Linked DNA regions of Homo sapiens: region 1 is linked to region 2. The links are contacts of gene promoters, found by promoter capture Hi-C in human tissues and cell types (Jung and others, 2019). All regions are on one chromosome and are shown on one strand. Each heading gives the region's core, a stretch centred on a gene start or on the middle of the fragment in contact. The rest is flanking DNA. Distances are from core to core; before and after follow the strand shown. Region 1 overlaps DNM3 (dynamin 3). Region 2 holds the start of MYOC (myocilin).

Evidence for each region. The method cuts DNA at HindIII sites, captures the fragments that hold promoters and counts their contacts. A contact is called where the count stands out against the background at its distance.
Region 1: a fragment that was not itself captured here is called in contact with the fragment with the promoter of MYOC in region 2 in 1 of the 25 tissues and cell types used here (heart right ventricle).

Annotation. Positions count from the first base shown.
Region 1 is chr1:171,847,646-171,853,697 of GRCh38, forward strand. All of the region lies in intron 1 of DNM3 (dynamin 3), which reads left to right. Among named protein-coding and RNA genes, the nearest start is that of DNM3, 9.2 kb to the left of the region's middle. The HindIII fragment of the contact is 4,362 bases long and covers 1-4,289 here.
Region 2 is chr1:171,650,840-171,656,311 of GRCh38, forward strand. MYOC (myocilin) reads right to left here and starts at 1,849. Exons shown (of 3, transcript NM_000261.2): 1 at 1,169-1,849. The coding sequence starts at 1,772. The HindIII fragment of the contact is 9,045 bases long and covers 1-5,472 here.

The sequences.
Region 1 (6,052 bases), core at 859-3,358, 200 kb after region 2:
TACTTAAGGGAGGTGAATTCTATTTTCCTTTTAAAGAATAAGTCATTTAGTTAAAGGAGTAGAATAAGTCAAAGACACAAATGTCAGGGAAAATGTCCTAAAGGCAAACCTGAAAATGGAATGAATTGTTTAGAATGGGAGGAGGGTAAAGGAGTTGACACTAAATGATTTGCATTTCATGAATTAAAAATCATTTCCAACAAATTAGAGGGTTCATTAATACCATATTAATTACTCTCTCTCTCTCTCTCTGTGTGTGTGTGTGTGTGTGTGTGTGTGTGTGTGTGATCATAGGTAGCTTAGCTTTTCTTCCTTTAATAGTAGCAAGACTGGCATTTGATGACATTATTATAAGAAGCTTTTCTCTGGCTTGATTTTCTCTAACTTCCTGGAGCACAGTAGGATACAGAGAAACCAGAGATTTGCCCAAGGTCAGAAGAAATCAGAGCTAGGTTTGGAACTTAATGTTAGGAACTGGGAGGCCTGTGCCAGTTCATCATCTTCTCTTCCTCCTGTTATTGTTTTAGAGCACCTCCCTCCAACCCTCACCCTGCCTCCTCCTTTTCCCATCCCTTTGCATTGGGCCAGCCTTTTTCTCTTCCGTGATACTCTCTTTCATTACTCTTCTTGATAGTTGACCAGCAGTGACATTGCATTTTATTACCTTTTTTTTCCCATACAGAATAGTGGAGACAGGGAGCAGAATTTTTCTCAGACTTAGGCAAGTTAATTTGACTGAAATAGTATACTCGTGAGTAAAGCGTGACTTTTAGGGAACAGATGGGCCCAGGAAAAGACTAAATAAGATATTGGATGTTTTTACACATTATTAATATTTATCCACCAGGTGGGCATTAGCTAGAAAGATATGCCTGAGATGGTCATCAATAGGCCTTGCTTAAACCAACACGAGCTTCTGAAAAGTTGTATGTAAATAAATAATCTAAATGGAAATGTTATTATTTAAACAAGTGGGTGAACTTTTAGGTAAAATAAAGATGTATTTGTGTAGCAAATCTGCATCCTTCAGTTTGCCTGTTTTCTATTCTTTTTGTGTGTGTGTTTGCATTCTTAGAGTGCATTGAGTGACATTGAGGTCCATTAATGTTATAGAGATTATTTTAACAATTTTTCAACAAGCATTAATATTGCATTGTCTTTAGTGTTAATTGATAACAAAAACAGAGCAGTTGTTGAGGAAAATGATGATACATTTAATTCCGGAATTATATGAATGATACAGGATTGCTTTAGATCTTGTTTTTCTCTAATATCCCTGCTGCAAGTCCTCTATTTCCAAGGGTTTAAAATGTACCTCAGTGCTTCTTTGTGACAGTGTGTCATTTTTATTTCCCACTGCTTCAAGGTCATGATATACCCATGAATAGCATATATATACATGATAGCAGTAGCTAGGTATCCTGAAGGACCTCATTGTTTATCCTTCCAGTGGCTTGGAATTGAAAGACTAATCTATTTGATAAGTAATTTGATGGGTGACTAAACTTGTTTATGGTGCTTATTTTTTTAGATTTCTCAAAAGTGAGTATTTGAAGAGGAGTCATCACAGCATGGTGATGGAGTGCAGGCTTTGCTGGCAGCTCTTGAGTCCTGCCTCTGACTCTCACTGGTAGCATGGCTCCTCATTACGGAATCTAGCCTCACTTGGCCTCAGTTCCTTCATCTGCAAAATAGGGATTGCAGACTTCACCTTTTAATCTGTGTGTGAGTTCTGAGTAAGATGGTATCAAGTGCCTGGTCCATAGTATGCATTCAATAACTGATTGCTCTTAATTTAAATCTTTTATTTAGACTGGACATTTTTTGAGTGTTTTAAAAACAAAAGTAAGTTGAGGCAGATGGTAATGCGTATTTGCAAATTCTTTTCGTGAATGTTGGAAAATTACAGTTGCATCAAAATACTTACTTGTAGATAAGGCTAATAGAATATATTTGAGCCTTCTTTAAAGAAAGCATTGCCCACATTCGTTAAATGCATTATCACAATGTGTTCTTTTTTTTTTAAACCAATATATACAAAGTGAACCCAGTTTGTATACTCTTCCCTTCCAAGAGTTCCAAAGCAGTTTTTATCATTTCATTAATCCTTCGAATTTCTGTGAGAAGATAGCAAAAGCATGTTTTGTTTACTTTAATTTAGAAATAAAAAAGATTAAGCTGGAAAAAAGTTGGGTGACATACTGGGGTCACATGGTGAGTACTAGAAATTAATGAACAAAATAGACTTAATAACAGATAATAGAATTAAAATGAATTTTTCTGACATTATTTTTAGTTTTCTCCTAGAGAATATATTTTAAGGAAGATATTTGATGCTGTGATATAAAGTAAACCATTCTTAGCATATTCCTTTTCTTTTGGAAATGTTAGATGAAATTGCAGGCAAAGATGGTGTAGAAGGGGGAAAAACAATTGAGGAAGTCTAGTTGGCGAAGCAGGACTACTTAGCAAGAGTATGGTCTGAGCCCAAGGAAACCATCTACAACCAAGTGTTCAGGAGGTAAGGTGTAATTAGATCTTAAAAGAAGTACCAACATTTTTGTAGTAGATGTTGAAATAATACCAAATCACTCTTTTTTCCAGTGGAAAGATTCATATTCTGATTTGATTGACATTCCCATAACTTGTTAACCATCAGTTTTAGCTCTGAGCTAGTCAGCTGGTTCTGTTTGGAATTACATTATTTTTAAGTTACTAGATATACCTCAGAAGCTTTGAAAAGAATAGCTTTGGGTTTCTTATCTAGTGGAGGTTTAGAACCCTGTATATGTGTGTCTGTTTATGTTTTCTGGTTAATAAAACTAAGACCCATTCTCTTCATATTTTGAAAAGAGGGGCAAAGGCTTGCAATTATTTTTATAGATCCTAGCATTCATGGTTCTGAGTCCTACTACCAGGACAGCAACAATTGTGTGGTGAGATTTCTGCATTCTCATCTAAATACCGATAGAACGACCTGCATACTGAAGTCCTTGTAAATTCAACTTAAGAAACTTTAGCCTGTTTATTTAATCCTAAAAACATATCATGTAAAATGTGTATGTGTGGGTACTTGATTTGAATTATGTACTTTGAAAGTTACATATTCTCTTAGGGCTTTGTTTTTTTTTTTTTTTCCTCAGAGTAAGTTAAGAAGGGAAGTGGCAGAAGGATCATGAGTTCCTTGCTTGCAGAGTAAGTGGGGAGATGAGAAGGAGGAAGCAATGCTTTTGTGAGTGTCCACCAGATTGTAGGGACATACGAAGAGAAAAGACTGGTAAGGTTCAACCACTGTGAGAATTAGGAGTATTTGTGAATGAGTTAGTCTGGGGTGGCTTTGGTTCTCTCCTGCTCCCTGTGGCAGGTGGTCCCTGCATATTTGTTCAAAGTGTGCCACAGGTAAGCAAGGTAGCATGCCAAGAACAGTGAGAGCTGGGTTTAGTCTGGCCTCTGCTGTCATCTGCTGGTCTTCTCAGCTCTATCTGTCTGATTTAGAGGCCCCTCCTTGGTGGCCCTTGTTAATATTTCACTGCACAGGAATCTACCGAACAGTTGGTTGCCTCCTCTGTCTGCTCAACTATTTGCAGCTTCCACGAAGCCAGGAGCTGTGTCTCCTTTATCATTTTCCGTAGTGCAGTGCCGGCATATGGCAGGAGCTAACTGAATGAATCAGCTACTTGACTCTGTACAAGCCATTTATCTAAGCTGAAACATACCTTTGTCATCAATAAATTGGTTGAGAATAGTTGAGTGGGCTTGGATTAGAACGGTTGTTGTTTTTTGAGACAGAGTCTCGCTCTGTCGTCCCGGCTGAAGTGCAGTGAGTGGCATGATCTCAGCTCACTGCAACCTCTGCCTCCCAGGTGCAAGCAATTCTCATGCCTCAGCCACCTGAGTAGCTGGGACTACAGGAGTGCGCCACCACACCTGGCTAATTTTCATATTTTTAGTAGAGACGGGGTTTCGCTATGTTGGCCAGGCTGGCCTTGAACTCCTGACCTCAGGTGATTTGCCCGCCTCTGCCTCCCAAAATGCTGGGATTATAGGCGTGAGCCACTGCACCCGACCTGAACAGTGCTTTTTAAACTGTAGATTGTGACCTAATAGTGGGCCATGATATCAGTTTAGTAGATGGTGTGTGACAGTGTTAAGCGAAGTATCAGACTACATCCAAGGTAGTTATAAGTACCACTTTGTGAAAGTTTTGTATTAGTTGCATATTTGTATATGCATACTAGGCTGCAATGTAAAATGTATTTCTTACTATGGGTTATCCTCAAAATTGTTGAATGCCTCTGATCTAGATTAAATCTAATATTACTTCTAGTCATTTATTTGGTTATTTTCTATTTAAATGGCAGGACATATCTTTTTATTAGAGAAGACACAATTCACACTATACCATTACTATTCCACTAGGATGAATTAAAATGGAAATAACTTTATTAATTTAAAAAAGCTGTCTTTTAATTGAAAAAGTGATATGTACATGTAATACAAATTCAGACATTCCAAAATACATTATATTTATACCACATAAATCCCTTTCCCCTATTGAGGTTTCTTAGTAAGATGTTTCATTTACCTGCCTATCTTCCAGATTACTTCTGAATTTATATTTTCTTTATATGAAATTTATTTGAGTTTTGAGGACAGAGAGAATTTAATAAACTTGTTTGTAAGTAGATGATACAACCAGTTAAGAAAGGACATGTTTGAAAATTCTTTTAGCAGATGGATTTGTCCATTTACTGAGTCATTTACAAAGAATCATATGTTGAGAGTCCACAATATGCCAGGAATTGTGTGAGGCTCTGGTATGCAACAGCTCCTTCAAAGAGCTTGGTGATCCAGTGGGTACAGGATTGCTATGCACTGCACTGTCAGGATACCCAGGCTAACAATTCTTATGAGAGCCATTTGTCAGAGAATAGTTGGTGAGTTCATGATACTGTCTCTAAATATTTGAGGAGCTGTTACTTGGAAAAGGATTAGACTGACTCAGTTATCTCCCCAGAAGACATAATTAGAACAAATGGGTGAATGTTACAGGCAGATAGACTTAAACTTAACGTAGAGGAGACTGTTCAATAGAACACTTTAAAAAATGGAATGGATTGCCTGTGAAACAGTAAGTATTCCATCCCCATAAGTGTAGAGACTGGCGATTGATGACTTGCTGGCTGCTTGGCATGGTGTAGTCAGGAGAGGGGTTGAACAAAAGGACTTTGAAGGTTTTTTGTTTGTTTGTTTGTTTGTTTGTTTTAAACAGTCTACGATTTGGCTTGATGGATGTCAGAGAGAAACCTGGCTTTAAAAAAATGTGTGTTTTCTATAGGTTATCTGTAGGTAGATAAGAAATGACAGACTTATAAAAGAGTTAAGACCTCTCTGGGTCTAGACCTTCAAAAAATCATTATGCCTGTCATTGTATGGATGTAAAGAAGCTGGACTCTCTCCTGGAATGGCTAATTCCATGAAGCAGCTGTGGTTAAGGGTGTTTTAGAGGTAAACTGTATTTATTCTTTTTTTTTTTGAGACAGGCTCTAGCTCTGTCACCCAGGCTGGAGGGCAATGGCATGAAAACTGCTCACTGCAGCCTTGATATCCCTGGCTGATGAGATCCTCCCACCTCAGCCTTCCGAGTAGCTGAGACCACAAGTCCGCACCACCATGCTCAGCTAATTTTTAAATTATTTTTTGTAGACACAGGGTCTCCCTATGTTGTCCAGGCTGGTCTTGAACTCCTGGGCTCAAGTATTTCTCCTGCCTTGGCCTCCCAAAGTGGTGGCATTACAGGCATGAACCACTGTGCCTGGTCTGTATTTATTTATTTTTTAAAAAAGCTTAATTTTAAAATCTGCTTTTCTAATTGACCCAATTTCTTTCAGTGGTATACTAGTCTAGAAACTTAAAAAATAAACATAGTTTAGTTTCCTTTTTTTATTTTTAAAATCTTCCTATATCTAACACATCTTGTAATTTCTTTATTCAAAACATCTTTTTGGTCAGCCTTTTCCTCTTTATTCTCATTCTGACCATCAGAGTCTCA
Region 2 (5,472 bases), core at 599-3,098:
AGTCTTTCTTCAACCATTTGAGAGCAAATTGCAGACATCCTGACGCCTCACCCTGGGTACTTAAGCATGTATCTCCATAGAACAAAGATTTTATCCTTCGCAACCACAGTATCATTATCTCACCAAGAAACTGAACATTAATACAGTAACATAATAATGAGCAGTCAAATTGCCTCAGTTATCCCAAACCTGTTCCTCATAGCCTTTTTCCCCCTTGGATGAAGACACCAATCAAGACTCATGCACTACATTTGGTTAACACATTTCTTTAGTCTCTTTAATATAGAACAAGCCCTTCCCCACCCCTTTTTTCTTTCTTCCTTGGCACTGACATCTTTGACCAGTCCAAACTAATTGTCCAACAACTGGATTTGCTTGCTTATTTCCTCATGATTAGAACACTTCCTCAACAGGGAATATTTGGGAGCCCACTTTCACAAAAAGTGACACAAATACCATCTTCCCAGCTAATAAGAAGACCTCCCCCAACACCTCACCCCCGCACCCCCCCCACACACACACAGACTCACCTTTAGGCAAGAAGGGACCAGGATGAACAGAAGAGCCTCTCAGAAAAAGCCATCTCAAGAATTTGTCTGATGACTTAAAAGCAGAGGTTCTCAGATTGGACTGAGTAAGAAAACTTTCAGAACAACATATTAAGAAAACTGACAGAGAGGTGCCATCTCTTTATTTTGCCAGGGAAGAACATTTAAAAATAAACAAAAACTTACCACTTATTATCATTTCCCAAATCTATTGTAATTTCATAAATAAAGGTCATTTTAACATCAAAAGGTACAAATAACAATCTGAGCAAAGGTTCAAAAAAGGATAGTTTTTCAAAAGGGACAATTGACAACTTTCTACTGCTCATATGCAGACACATCTCACCCGGTCCTTTTATTTCTCCTTTTGCTATGGACTGTGAAAACTGACATGGAGGGGCACAAGAACTCTGAACCACTAATCTAAATGAAGCTCTCAGGAGCTAAATTACTAGTAATACTTGAAGGTGATCGCTGTGCTTTCCTTAATTCATCTGTCTTGTGCTAGCTGTGCAGTCTCTAGGAGAAAGGGCAGGCAGGGAGGCCTGGAGCGCCTGTAGCAGGTCACTACGAGCCATATCACCTGCTGAACTCAGAGTCCCCCCACTCTGCATTCTTACCTTCTCTGGAGCCTGGTGGCACAGCCCGAGCAGTGTCTCGGGTCTGGGGACACTGGCCCCTTCTCAGCCTTGCTACCTCCTGGCTGCTGCTTTCCAACCTCCTGGCCAGATTCTCATTTTCTTGCCTTAGTCGCTTCTTCTCTTCCTCCAGAACTGACTTGTCTCGGAGGAGGTTGCTGTAGGCAGTCTCCAACTCTCTGGTTTGGGTTTCCAGCTGGTCCCGCTCCCGCCTCAGGGTGCCCAGCTCCCTCTGCAGCCCCTCCTGGGTCTCCTGGGGCCTGGCAGCCTGGTCCAAGGTCAATTGGTGGAGGAGGCTCTCCAGGGAGCTGAGTCGAGCTTTGGTGGCCTCCAGGTCTAAGCGTTGGGTGCTGCTGTCTCTCTGTAAGTTATGGATGACTGACATGGCCTGGCTCTGCTCTGGGCAGCTGGATTCATTGGGACTGGCCACACTGAAGGTATACTGGCATCGGCCACTCTGGTCATTGGCCTTCCTGAGCTGAGCTGTCCTGGCCCCCACATCCCACACCAGGCAGGCCAGAAGCAGCAGCTGGACAGCTGGCATCTCAGGCCCAAAGCTGCAGCAACGTGCACAGAAGAACCTCATTGCAGAGGCTTGGTGAGGCTTCCTCTGGAAAGCTCTGCTGTGCTGAGAGGTGCCTGGATGGGTGGCCTTGCTGGCTCATGCCCGAGCTCCAGAGAGGTTTATATATACTGGGGAGCCAGCCCTTCATGGGGGAAGACAGAGGTGGCCACGTGAGGCTGGGTGGGGCTGTGCACAGGGGGGTTGCCTTCACGCTGCCAGCAAGATTCTTAGAAAATAACCTTCCAGAAGTCTGTTTGGAGTTTCTTTTTAAAAAGAACATCCCAATTTATGCACCCATACCCCAATAATAGTTCCTATATCTCCACCTGGTTTTACACACACACACACACACACACACACGTACACACACTTACACCAGGACTACTGGTGTGCTGATTTCAACAAGGATATATTTCTAGTTTATATTTCCATTCACTCTGCAAACTCATTGAGAACCTGCACTGTGCCAGGCACTATGCTAGGAACTGGAGATCCAAACAAGTCCTTTAAGACGTAGCAGGGACAGAGAAAAATAACAGCCAGCCAGAACACAAGGACAGCACCCTACCAGGCTCCAGGGAGAGCATTCCTATAGAAGCGGCAGATTTCCCCCCTCACCCCTAGCTTTAAAACAACTGTGTATCTTTGGGAGAACTTTCTAATTTCAGTCTTGCATCTCAGGCACCAATGTCAATGTTAGCCTCTAAATCAGTTCTTACTCTGTGTGTGTGCATGCCAAGAACCTCATTGGTGAAATCTGGGGAACTCTTCTCAGAAAGATGTTTTCAAATATATAAAATATAGATTACAAAGGAAACAAATGATAATGAAATATGATTATCAAAATATCAAAATTTTAAACATGTTTTATTAATATGTTAAAAACAAGATCCAGCAGGAGGTCTAATTTCAAAGTAGTTTTGAGTATAAATATTTCACTTACAACGTATCTGCAACAACTGTAATATAGTATAAAATGTCTGTGATTTCTATTGGTAATGACAAAATCACAGGTACTGTTATTACCACTTTGAGTTTATGGCTCTATTCGCAATGGAATAAAATGTTAAATTTAGTTAGAAGGTGGTAAAAACAAAAATGTAATTTTTTCCTCATTCAAATTCACAGGCTTTCTGGACTGTAGGTTAATAATCCCTGCTTTACATTAATAAACCCAAAGAGAAAAAACAAAAAGCAAATGGCAATAGCCAATAAATATACCAAAACTGTCAGAAGTAACTTTAAGCCACTTGAAATAATGATTGCCTTTGAGCAACTTTATGTTGTTAATACCAACAACAGTGTCAATACTTGTGAAGTAAATATTTCCAAACTGCCCTGGCAGACTCACCTCCAGAGTGGAGAAACACAGTTTGCTCTAAAGATTCTATTCTTATTTGATTGGTTCTGCAGTTAAGCCTGAACTTGAGACATTTACAAATGGGTGTTTGTTTACAGCTGACCAAAGGGTACTAGTCTCATTTTCTGAATCAGATAGTAAACATCGCTGAAATGATTTTTCAAAAAACCAATCATATAGTCAGCAAGACCTAGGCTTGAATCTGTTTGGCTTTACTCTTAGGAATGTTTTCTTCCTGTTAAAAGAAACGGGATTGCCCTTGTGCTGCTAACTCCACAGAGAAAAAGAGTTCCTAATAAGGAGAAACTAAGTAATCTTACAGCCTCAGTTACTACCTTGTGACTTGCTCAGAATTACTCAGCTTGTAAAGGAAAAATATAGTATTAGAAATCAGGTCTCCCGACTTCCCTTGAACTGATTTTTTCCCCCCACAATATAGCCCTGCCTCCTAGAACCCAGGATCACGTGGACTATAATCCCTGTGGTCAATTCCCACTGCCCTTGAATGAATCTGTCTTTCTTGCTCATACACTATCCCTCTCTTTTTCTTCTCCTCCCCTGCGCTGCAGGTCACTCCGTGCTGTCAGCAGTCACTGCTGAGCTGCGTGGGGTGCTGGTCAGGGTGAAAAGTTTAACAATCTCTGGCATTTTCCACTTGCTCTGGCCCAGTTTTTGAATGCCAGGCAAAAGCTACCACCAGTTAGTCTCTGCATTCTTTTTGGTTATTGGCAAATGCCATTGTCTATGCTTAGGGAAGGAAAATGTGGCTGTTGGGTTCATTGAGCTTTCCTGAAGCATTGTGGCTCTCGGTCCTGGAGTCTGACGTGATCAGTGAGGACTGATGGAGCACCCAGCTTCTGCCTGCCTTCCTGTCCCCCTCCACCTCCCCTGTGGCTCAGCTGCTCCAGCTCTGCCTCCTTCCCCTCTCAACATCCCCCCTCACAGAGAATCACAGGGAAGTGTTCACAGAACACGAGAGCTGCAAGGGTCTTTATAGCAGAGAAGACTATGGCCCAGGGAAGGAGAGACACTTGCCCACGGTCGCACAGCCAACCAATGGCAGAACCAGAAAGAAAACCGAGTCTCCTGATTCCAAGGTTTTCGACCGTCTTGCATAAGCCAAGTCCACCACAGGGCTGAGTAGTTGCCCAGAAGACATGAAAGAAAAGACTCCAGTCACTTCTTCCGTGAATTAACGGCCTAGGAAATGAGCTCGCTTCCTATATTCCCATTAAATAAAGGCCTTCGTGAAGGAAAACCCATGCACACCCTGGAATTTTAACAGCTGACTTTATGAAACTGCATCCCTTCATGAAATAGACTTCTTCTCCTCCAAGCAGAGAAAAGATAAAAAGGCTCACAGGAAGCAACGGAAAACTCCCAGCCCCGTGAACAACACTGAACATCTGGGCAGCTTCAGCCTTGCCCTTTTCACCTTCCTGCCTTTCAGCACCCGCTCAGCCCCAGCGTCCCCACTCCCTGCAGTCCCCACCTCCTGGAATTCTCCTGGACGTGGAGGCCCCTTTCCCTCTGAGGAAACACTGTCCCCTCCAGATTCTCCGTTAGACTAGTTTCCCTCTCCATTTCCTTTCTGGAGCCTGGAGCCAAGGAGTCTCCAGCTCAGATGCACCAGGACGATTCACGGGAAGCGAGGCAGGCCAGCTGCAGCGCTGTGACTGATGGAGGAGGAGGCTTGGAAGACTCGGGCTTGGGGGCCTCCGGGCACGATGGAGGCAGCAGGGGGCGCTAGGGAGGTGGCCTTGTTAAGGGATGCTGCGCACAATTCTTCAAGATGGTGTTTATTTCCTTTCTTTCAGCACTGGGTTTAAGTTGGCTGGCTATTAATTTTCTTCTGCACGTCTTCCATGAGAAACTGTCACCTCCACGAAGGTAGGGCAGTGACTGCTTTGCTCACCATTTTGTCTCTGGTGTCTGGCAGATATAAGTACTCAATAAATTGTCAATGAATGCCTGGATGAATGAACGAGTCACACAGAAATAGAAAGCAACAGGTCCCTAGAGAGTGATAACAAAACAACCAGTGGCACGGGCTGGCAGGTTGCTCAGGACACCCAGGACCCCGGGTGCTTGCAGGGCTCCCCCAGCTGGAGAGGAAACCTCTGCCGGGGGCTTCAAGGAGTCTCTGGGGTATGCCCTCCTCCCCTATACACACACACAGATGGCCCCAAATGGAACTAGTTTATGTATACTCTTATTTCAGTAACGATGTGGAGGCTTACCACAAAAGCATGGTGAATAAAATGGTAACTTAGCCTGAAAATGAGGATGAGGGAAGAAAGTGATGAGGACCAGTGGTCTGGGACTAGGCAGGCAGCTCATGGCACCATTCCCCATCCCAAG